Regions from separate parts of the Homo sapiens genome. Here regions 2 and 3 are each linked to region 1. Evidence: promoter capture Hi-C in 16 types of primary human blood cells and fetal thymus (Javierre and others, 2016). All regions are on one chromosome and are shown on one strand. Each heading gives the region's core, a stretch centred on a gene start or on the middle of the fragment in contact. The rest is flanking DNA. Distances are from core to core; before and after follow the strand shown.

Region 1 (3,444 bases), core at 583-3,082:
GCGGCCCCGCCCCGCGGGGGCGGCCGAGACCTCGGGGCGCGGAGCCGCTGCCGCGCCTCCTCCCAGCACCCCTGCCCGACTCCCTCCTCCTGCTGCCAGTTTCAGCTCTCGAAAAAAAAAAAAAAAAAAAAAACAGATGACCCCGGTAGCTGTCCTGTGAAGTCCTAAAGGCGAAAAGTGGAGCCCTCGAGGGGCAGCACACCGTCCTGCGCGGCCAGGCTCCGGAGTAGGCATAGGGAGCCCGGAGCTCCCCCAAGTCGCCCTCTCGTCCCCAGAGCCCAACCAAGCCCCGGCGCTGCTCCCCGCCCAGCCCAGCCCGCGGGTGCTGCTGCAGGGTCTCCACCCACGCTCTTTGCAACTTCCCAGCGCCGCGCGGGGACCAGCGCCCGCAGGCTCAACAACAAACCAGTAGGAGAAAATCAAACAATCTAAGGAAAGGCGAATGGATTTGCTTTGCCTCCATGGACTTCGCCTTAGAACTCCTTCGCGAGGGTCTGTCCGGTCACCGCGCCTCGGCCGGGGCGACCTAAGGCGGCTGAAGGAGGGTGCGAGAAGGCGCGGCGACCTCAGCCGCATCCACGTGTGCGCGCCGCGCAGGGACCTTTCGCCTGGGGGCAGAGCCCGCGGGGATCGCGTCCCGGTTGCGCGGCAGCGGCCTTGGGTGCTGCCGGCCTCTGTCCCCTTGAGCCGAGTGGCGACTGCGACGGCTGCCGAGCTAGCCCTGGCACCCGCCGCTCGCAGGGAGCCCCGGCGTGTGCTGCTGGGAAAGTCCAGAGGCCGGTGGAGACTGGGGAACGAGCAACTGACAGTTCGGACGAGGATTTCCCTCCTCCTCCTCCTCTCCCTCTTCCCATCTGTCCGGCCAAAAATGTGAAGGGACTGCACCCATCTTCCCGGCGAGCCTCCCTAAGTGCAGTGACATGTGCGACGGCGGCGCGTGTGGGTGCGCGTGCAATGTTTGCAGTGGAAGTAAAAGCCTTTCAGAGAAAAATGATTCGAACCTCCAAAACCAGGTCTTAAGACAATTTGCAAAAGTAGAGACCCCTTTATCCCCCTAAAATCTGCTTTTCAGCCGCCTGTCAGCTGACACTGGTCCTCGCCTCCATAAAGAATGAATGAAATTTAAATGAACTACCTGCAGCTACTAAACAATCCAGCATTTTCCCTGTATCTGCCATATGCTCTGCACTTCCAAGTCCAAACATATCTCAATGCATCCAGCAATTACGCTGCGGATCCCTCGCCGACACCCGCGGCATCAAGCCAGGCACCTGGTGGGCTCCCCGGGGCTGGTGGGCACCGCTCTGCCCTCGGCTGGAACGTGCTTTCTTTTTCCCCCTAAAGAAAAATGTATCCCCATGCAACTTGCAAAATGAGCCGCAGGGCGTGCTTCCCAACGTCCGGATACATTTCCCGCAAAGACTCTTCCATTCATCAGTCTCTGGAGCGGCTTCTGCTGCCGAGGCAGGGGCTCCAGGTCCTCGGAGGGTCTGACAGCCCCTCAGATGATCCCGGAACGAATTCCCACCTGCTCCCGGGAGCCTGGCGCCCCGCGCGCCCCCGCGCGCCCCCGCCCTCGGCCGCCCGCCCGGCTCCCCGTTACCTGTGCCGGGGTCTTCGGGCCATGGCGCGGCGGGCGCGGGGCTCCGCCGAGAGCCGCGGGGACCGCACCGGGCTGCCGCCTCCCGCTGCCCGCCGCCTGCCTGCGTCCCTCCCCGGCTGCGCAGCGGCGCTCCGCACCGCTGGGGCGAAGTTTCTCAGGAGAAAGAGGAGGAGGAGGTCACGGAGGAGGAGGAGAAGGAGGAGGAGGAAACAGGTTGATATTAAAGTGTAAACTCTGTAAACAGAGATGCCATCAAACAAAGAGCTTTGGACACTCCCCCTCCCGCCAAATCTGGCGCCCCTGCAGTGCGCACGCGCCCTGCCCGCCGCCTCCGCGGTCGCCCTGGCTGCCGCCCGCGGGGCTGCCGGGCTGGCCGGGTCGCCGCTCCCATTCGGCGCTCGCGCCGCCGCGGTGCGCCTAGCGCGCCGCGAGGCCCGGGAGGCGCGCGGGCAGGGAGCCCGGGGCCAGGGAGGGGTGGCCGGGGGCCGCGACGGCGCCTTTTCCTGAGCAAACCCCGCTCCCGGGTCGCGGCGGCGCCGACCCGCGCCCAGTCCCGCCGCCTCCCCTCCTCCCTGGCTGCCGCACCGCGGTCGCCCGGCTCCGCGTGCTCCCGGGCAGCGGGACCAGAGCTCCTCCAGCTCCCACTCACTGTCGCGGGGGCGGCAAGCGGTGGGGGGAAATTCCCGCACAGAAGATTGGATTTTCGTCAAGGTTTACAACTGTGCCCTCTGGAGACGGGGAAATTAGGAGTTGGAGGAGTAGGGGATGTGAGCATATGTATTCATAGGCTGTTTGGCTAGGGTTTTTTTTCCTTCTTCTTAAATAAATAACATCTCTAATTTAACTTGTTAGTGACAAAGGACGCTTCAATACAAGTGGGCGGCAACCATCACCGCTCACTAATGGAGCGCCCCAGCGGAGCTTTCACTCCCCTCCCGGATCCTGCAGCCGCCACCGTCGTATTGTCACATGTCCTTCACTCTCACCCCAGCACACACCCGGGCCCCACCCACCCCGCCCCGCCCGGCCCAGGCGGTGCCCACCGCACACCTTTGCTCCCCTCCCTGCACAGAGCGCGCACCCTGGATTGCACACCTGCAAAAAAAAAAAAAAAAAAAAAAAAAAAAAAAAAATACACGGGGGTCCAGACAGCCCGCCCCTAGCAGAACTCAGGAAACCCCACGTTTGCATGCATGGTTTTAGAAGTAAAACAGTTTGTGATTTTGGAGGTCGGTATCCCTGCTTAGTGTCATTTGAGGGCTCTATTTTACGAGATAAAAGTCAGCAAAGGCTTTCGTGTTGTTTAATGAGGGTCTCCAGAAGTAAAGGAAGAAGATAAGTGCTGAATTTATAAGGATTGATGACTGGGGGGATTTTAGGGGAGTTTTAGTTTTACTTCCGTTTATAGATTAGAACCATTGGGGATTTTTTTTTCATTCTCTGTACACACTAATGTATTTTTCCTTTAATCTTTTAGGAGTTTGAGACTTCTGCTGACTGGGTTTGTGGGTGTCCCATGTGCCCCAGCAGTTCAAACTTAGCTCAGAAAGCATTTTTTCTTACTAAAAAAGCATGTTCTTACTAAAATGAGTCATAATTTTATTAAACGGTGAAGCATGCGAGGTTTCAAGACTATCTGGTGTTTTAGACTTTCTTTAAAATTGTTATATAGTTTAAATCTTTATCAAGTGTTAGTTGCTAGTAAGGTTTTAACATTCCTTTCCTCCTGAGAAGAAAATAACACTGAAACAAAATTATTGTGAGATATTTCGGATCACAATTACAAAGGACAAGGCAAATTAATACTTTTAAAGCCAATATTTATTTCTAGATTCTATAAT
Region 2 (3,630 bases), core at 789-3,288, 260 kb before region 1:
AGGCGTGAGCCACCGTGCCCGGCCAGCAAGACCCATTCTTTTAAAAAAAATTTTTTTAATTAGGTGGGCATGGTGGCATGCACCTGTAGTCCCAGCTACTTGGGAGGCTGAGGAAGGAAGATTGATTGAACCCAGGAATTCAAGGCTGCAGTGAGCTATGATTCTGCCACTGCACTCAAGCCTGGATGACAGAATGAGATCCCATCTCTTTAAAAAGAAAAAGAATTAAAAATTTAAAAAAAAATTTTTTGATGTCTGTAAGATGTATATCTCTTAATGTTTATGGATTCATGAAATTCTTCACAGCACCTGGCTTCTTCCTGAATCACACTTTGATAGAGATATGTACATGTATATACTTCTGCCACAAGCTGAGCAGAATTTAAGCTTTTACTAAAGTGTTCTTACTAGATTAGCATTTTATGCAGTGGCAAGAAGCATTGCTGATACAATTTTGCAATGTTTTACTTGTTTTTATAAAGAATGAAGTGGTTTATTTTATGCATATGAGCTGCTACCAGATGAAATTTATCCAAAATCTTAATTTATTCAAACATCTAATGTAGAAATAAGAGCTTACTATTCTTACTTATTCATCTTCATTTTCTATATTTTATATCACATTTGACTTTCTTTTTGAGGCTGATTTTACAGATACATTTTAAAATCACTTTGAGTTAGAATACTTTAAGCATGATATGGAGAGAATAACACTTAGATTATGCCCTTGGGGAACTTCCAAGTTAGGTGGGAAAAGAAAGCAGTTACATTGTTGTTTATTTTCAGATATGCTTCAGAGAAGTCTTGATGAAATGAGGAAATGTAGGTATAAAGATGATTGTACAGATCAGCAGTTCTCAAAATGTAGTTTGGAGACCTCTGGGAGTTCTGAGTCCCTTTCAGGGGGTTCTTGAAGTCAACTTCTTTTCATAATGATTCTAAGGTGTTACTAGTCTCATTCAGATTCATTCTCTTACAAGTATGTACTAGCATTTTCTAGAGGCTAAATAACGTGATATCACAAGAGAGCAGAGGCACTTACGAAAATCTAGATTTTATTCAGCTAGACATTTAAAGTTAGCAAGTTACTTTTATTTTATTTTTATGAAAACTCCAAATAGCCTCCAAAAAAATGTTCCAAGAATGTAAAGCATCTCGAAACTAAAAACATTTGAGAATTGCAGATATGAAGACTGAACTACAATGGTGGAAGAAGGGCTCATTCAACAGTGGAGCTTGAGATAGACTAGGATGCTCAAGGTAGGGGTGAGTGAAGGAGGGACAAGGGCGGGTATTTCATATGAAGGCAAAGTTGCAAATAAGTGGGAAAGGACCTGTTGTATTCATTAGGCACTCAAAAGCTTAGCTGGTTGGAAACCAGAGTTTGTAAAAGAGGAGATAAAGTAGTGTACTGGATGAGGCCCACATTGTGGAGTGTCTCAAATGGTAGCCTAATACTTGATTGTGAGGGATGTGAGGAATAATGGAAGGTTTTCGGGTGAGTGAGAAAAATAACAATTGTATTTGAGGATGAATTAATGCAGGCAGTGGCATGGGGAGATCTTGAAGTAGTAACATCAGAATTAGATGGCAGTCATTGATGTGTGAGGTGATGAGGGTCTAATGAATACGAGAGACAGAAAGTAGGAACCAGCATGATTTAGTGACTGACAAGGTAGTAAAGGAGGAGAAACAGTCAAGGCTTTTGAGGACCTTTATTGTTGTTATCAGACTTTCATTGAGTGTCTGTTGTGGATAGGGCACAGAGTCAAACCCTGAGAATACAAAGAACATGATAGTGGGTTCAATGTTTTCATTTTCAGCCTAGGTGATTGGGCACAGAGTTTTCCTTAATTACACTTCCTACTCTAGGAGCAGCAGCAAGTGGTTATAAAGCCTCCTGACATTTCTTTCAGTTTTTGTTACCTTGTTACCCTCCTCTCCCTTTTCTTAATTATGTGGTTGGAGGATGCAGAGAAAAGATGGGTAGCATGGAGTCTGGAGAATGCAGAGAAAGGATGGGGAGCATGGAGTCTGGTACATGATTGACACTTAACAAATTCTTTTGAATTTTTCACATTCCTAGTAGCTGGTCATAATGCTGTCTCCAGAGGAACTGCTAGATCTTGGTACTATTTGTGAAAAACCTGGTACCTGTCTAGAAAGCATGCCCTTGAAGTAACAGTCTTTGAGTAGGTCCATTAAGCTAGGCTTGACCCTTTGAATAATCCCTCTTAGCCATATAGAGCTAATAATGGTTACTCTTAGCTAGTAATAGCTACTCATAGGGTGGCTGTGATGAATATATTCAAAGACCTTTGTAATAAAGTACAACTTTCATGACATATAGTAAGAGCCCAGTATATGTTTACTTCAACTTTTTGAATTATAAGAAACAGAAGAACTAAGGCTCACTGAAGGTTGCAAGAGATAGAATTAGGATAAATAAACGTAACTGGTATTTTCTACAGTAGACATTAATACCCAGAAAATTTGGGCTTCATCTGGTAGAAGAGGGTGAAAACATTAAAATTTTGAAGAAATTGTAATAATGAATGAGAGACCAATAAGGGCCGATTGATTACTTTGAAAATACATTTTGGAAGGCAGCCACAAAAGGTGATTATTTTAAGATAGGCAAAGAGAGAATAAGCATTCATACATTCTGGCTTAAGCTAGGCCCCATAGGTACTTGTGGTCTTAAAAAAAGCTTGTGACTTTAACAAAAGTGACTTACTAGTGCTGTCATAGAATAAGGCTGTGACATACATTCTTTTAGTAGCTATATAGAAGCAGTGTGGCAGTGATGGCTTTAGAGTATCAGATATTGAAATTTTTCTATTCATATTTAGGTGAATTAAGTACTACTTAAACATGAAGAACAAACCCACTTTAAAAATTTCATGGACACTGATTCTCTTTTTACAAAGCAATTTACTATGGTTTTTCACCATTCTGCGTACTTGTTTTTCTCTTTCTCTGCATCATAAAAGGACTTAAAAGAACTACAGTAATTGAAATTAAAAACTAGCCTTCGCGTTTTAATGTTTGCTAATTTATATTTTTTAAACGTATGTTTTTTAGGCTTGCCGTATCCCAAACAAACACCTCTTCTCACTAAATGCAGGAGAACGAGGATGTTTTTGTCTTGATTTCTCCCACAATGGAAGAATATTAGCAGCAGCTTGTGCCAGCCGGGATGGATATCCAATTATTTGTGAGTAATAATCCTACCTGTTTAATCTGATTGTAGTCCACGTGGAGGACATTCTTTAGTTTTTTTAAATTCATGGAAATCTTAACTTGAGTAATCCCCTGTACTACTAAATTAAAGAAAACGGATTTCTTCAAACAAAGAAAGTTCTTTTGTAATAATTTTACACTTTTCTATACAGTAACTGTTCGTAAGTAGAATGAGATTGATCAAATGAAAGATGGTAAATTTATTTTTAAAACATGCAGGAGGATTTTTGTAAACATTTTGTATTTTAAATATAGAAATTTGGAAACAAGGATGAATAAATCTCATGGGGAACATTAGTCCAATGTGGCTAGTTGATAGCAGTGATGATTTGAGTTACAAAAGCCTCCAGATTTGCTGTGTAGTGGAATACCAATAATTGACTCAAG
Region 3 (3,257 bases), core at 717-3,216, 320 kb before region 1:
TTTATACATATATGTGTGTATATATACATATATGTGTGTATATATATACATATATGTGGATATATATTTATACATATATGTGTGTATATATGTTTATACATATATGTGTGTGTATATATATATATATACACACAATTTTTTTCATGGATACTCAGCCAATTTTTAGAATTATTACCATACTACCACTCTTAATTGTTTGCCTCTCCTAGGATAGCGGAGTGCCCTTGGTCTTGCACTCTCGACTAATGAGAGCTAAAGCAACATATCTGCTTTATTCAGTTTGAATGGGGCTCATTAATATGTTTAGTATATACTCAACTGCCTGCTGAACATCCCACTCCATACATCCCATTGCAACTAAACATCTTTTCCTCCATGCTTGCTCTTCCTGATTTTTTGTCGTTAACTGATTAGCCATTCTCCACCCAGTTACCTGAGCCAGAAACCTCGGCACCTTTCAAACTTCTTTTATAGTTTTAAAATAATTATAAACTTACAGAAAAATTGCAAGAATAGTATAAAGAACTTCTGCTTTCGCCCAAATTCCCTGTTAACATTTGCTTTATCATTTTCTTTATGTATATTATTTATGTTTATATTTATTTACAGTATTTATGTATACTTTTTTCCTGAACCATTTGAATAGGTTGCAGATATGAAGCCTCATCACCTTTAATACTTCAATATGTATTTTCTAAAACCAAAAATATCTATGTCACTATAGTCATCAAAATCAGGAAATTAATATTGTTAAAATACTACCATCTAATCCAGAGACCCCATTCAAATTGTTAGTTGTCCCAATAATATCCTTATAGCAAAAGGATTCAATTCAGAATCATGTATTCCACTTAATTGTCATGTATCTTAATTCTCCTTCAATCTAAAAACGTTCTTTAGTTGTTCCTTTGTCTTTCATGACCTTGATCTTTGAAGAGTACAGGTCTATTATTTTGTAGAATGTCCCTCAATTTGGGACATTTGGGTTGTCTGATTTTTTCCTCACGATTGATTCGGATTACACATTTTTGGCAGGAATGTCACAGAAGTGTATTCTAAGTGCCTCTAACCAGGACATACACGATGCTGATTTGTCTCATGACTGCTGATGGTAACTTCGCTCACCAGTGCCAGATTTCTACACTGTCAAGTTTTCTAATTTTTCTCTGTGTAATTAATAAGTATTTGCTGGAGAGATACTTTGAGACTATATAAATATTATATGTCTCTTAATACTCTCACCCTCTAGTTTTAGCATACACTGATGATTCTAGTCTGAATCAACTGTTACTATCATGACTGCCAAATAATGATGTTTCTACATATAACACTGTCTACATTCATTACATTTAGTTGGCATTTTTATGTAAGGCAGAGCTTTTCTTTATCCTGATTTTTCAAAAAAATCATTTATTCATTTTAGTATGGGCTCAAATATTCCTATTTTATTTAGCGGACTATAATCCATTAACATTATATTGGTGCTCAGATTGACCCAGATGTGGCCAGTGGTGGCTCCTTCAAGCTGGCTTCTGTGACCTTTTGATATGTTTCTTCATTCTGTATTAACTTCCTTAACTTCTGGTGCAACAAGAATTTTCCAGGCTCCTGTTCTAAAATCAACCATTTCTCCAAGGGACCCAGTTACTTTTAGTGAATAATACTGTTCAGAAACCAAGATCTAGGCACATGTGCTCATTGCTTCTAGTATACCATTACTCTGAAACCCTTTCAGCAGATAGAGCTAGGAAGAGCATAATAGATAGATACGCACACACATACAGACATACTTTCCTCTATATTTATTTTTACATATGTTTATGTATATATTGAAAACTATGAGTTGACACTGACATATTCAATTCCAATTCAACATCACCACAAAGGTCACTGTGGAATTCTTCCTCTCTCAATTTGTAACGTCCTTCTCTGTCAGTGAGAAACCTGGCTCCCATTAGACCCAACATATTTATTTCCTCACTCCCCTTTCATGCTTGCCACCTCTTTACTTGCCAAGGGGAAGGCAAAACAGCTGGTCATCGTTTTTTATTATTTCTTATCATTCACTCTTCCATCCAATCAATCACTAAGTCCTGACATTTTTACCTCCTAAAAATTTCTCAAATTGGTCCATTTCTCTCCATTCTGATTTTTCTTAGCCTTGACCATGCCACCTTTGTCTCTTACATGGCTTACAGCAACGGCATCTTAAATGGTATTCCCAGATCTAGATTTGCTTCCTTCCTGTCTGTTCTCCACCCTGCAGCCAGAGTTATCTTTATGATATTAAAATTTGAAAATTTCACTCCATAAAATTCTATAGTGGTATTCCACTGACCAATACTGTCTGGGTCTCTTCATAGCTTGTTTAACTCTCTTGTTTTGTCTCCTCCAAAAGCCCCTAGTCTCATTCTCTACCTTTTAGTTAGCCAACTTGAACTTTTTTTTTTTTTCTTCCAGTTCTTGTATTATACCAAACTTTCTTGTAGTGAACACTATACGCCACCTTCTTCTACCTGGAAACCCTTCCTAACCTGGACAACTCTACACATTATTTTGGTCTTTACTTAAATGTCACTTCTGCTATGAAATATTCCCTGACCTCCCCCACCCCACTGCACCTCTGCATGCTACTGTAAATGGAGAAGCAAGAGATGATAACAGGGTTACACATCCGCTAGTCTGGGGATTGTATTCTGAAACTAACACCCTACTAAGAATGAGCAGTCAGAGTTATAACTTCCCTTTGGAAAAGCAGGTACTTAAATGCAGTTGTGAGGACAGATGAAAAGTACATAAAACACCTACAATGCATACCTCCTAGAAGGAGCTCAATATATGTTATCCATTATTCATTCAACAAATGTTCATGAAATGCCAACTATTTCATAGACACTGTGGTAGATGCTGGGGATAGAGAAAATACAAAGTAAACTATGAAACTATAGAATGAGCATCCAAAGTCTAATATATAGAATGAGTATCCGAAGTCTAATAGGGAGTAGGAGTGTTTGAAGGAGTCAGTCAACCTGCTTAAGATTCAAAGGATGGACAACATTTGGCTGTGATGCAGGAGTGTAAAAGGAGGAATTTTCAGGAAGAGAGGACAATATGAGTAAGGACGGGGCGTGAAAGGCTATGGATTGTTTTTCATGGTACACATAATTCAATGTTGCATAAAACTGCATGGTACACATGATTCAATATTGCATAAAATTGGAACAAGAAGCTAACGAGAGATGAAACTAGTCAGGGAG

The links. The method cuts DNA at HindIII sites, captures the fragments that hold promoters and counts their contacts. A CHiCAGO score of 5 or more calls a contact.
Region 2: a contact is called between a fragment that was not itself captured here and the fragment with the promoter of MYB in region 1, in 3 of 17 cell types (fetal thymus, erythroblasts and megakaryocytes). The highest score is 10.5, in fetal thymus.
Region 3: a fragment that was not itself captured here is called in contact with the fragment with the promoter of MYB in region 1 in 1 of 17 cell types (fetal thymus); the score reaches 7.8 in fetal thymus.

Annotation. Positions count from the first base shown.
Region 1 is chr6:135,179,696-135,183,139 of GRCh38, reverse strand. MYB (MYB proto-oncogene, transcription factor) reads right to left here and starts at 1,832. Exons shown (of 16, transcript NM_001130173.2): 1 at 1,604-1,832. The coding sequence starts at 1,626. RefSeq lists silencers at 585-664, 1,714-1,763, 1,824-2,043, 2,114-2,163, 2,604-2,713 and 2 more. The HindIII fragment of the contact is 5,797 bases long and covers 1-3,444 here.
Region 2 is chr6:135,442,169-135,445,798 of GRCh38, reverse strand. AHI1 (Abelson helper integration site 1) reads left to right here. Exons shown (of 29, transcript NM_001134831.2): 14 at 3,085-3,217. Among named protein-coding and RNA genes, the nearest start is that of AHI1, 54 kb to the left of the region's middle. The HindIII fragment of the contact is 1,349 bases long and covers 1,364-2,712 here.
Region 3 is chr6:135,499,002-135,502,258 of GRCh38, reverse strand. The region is part of intron 2 of AHI1-DT (AHI1 divergent transcript); the gene reads right to left. Among named protein-coding and RNA genes, the nearest start is that of AHI1-DT, 2.8 kb to the right of the region's middle. The HindIII fragment of the contact is 6,529 bases long and covers 1-3,257 here.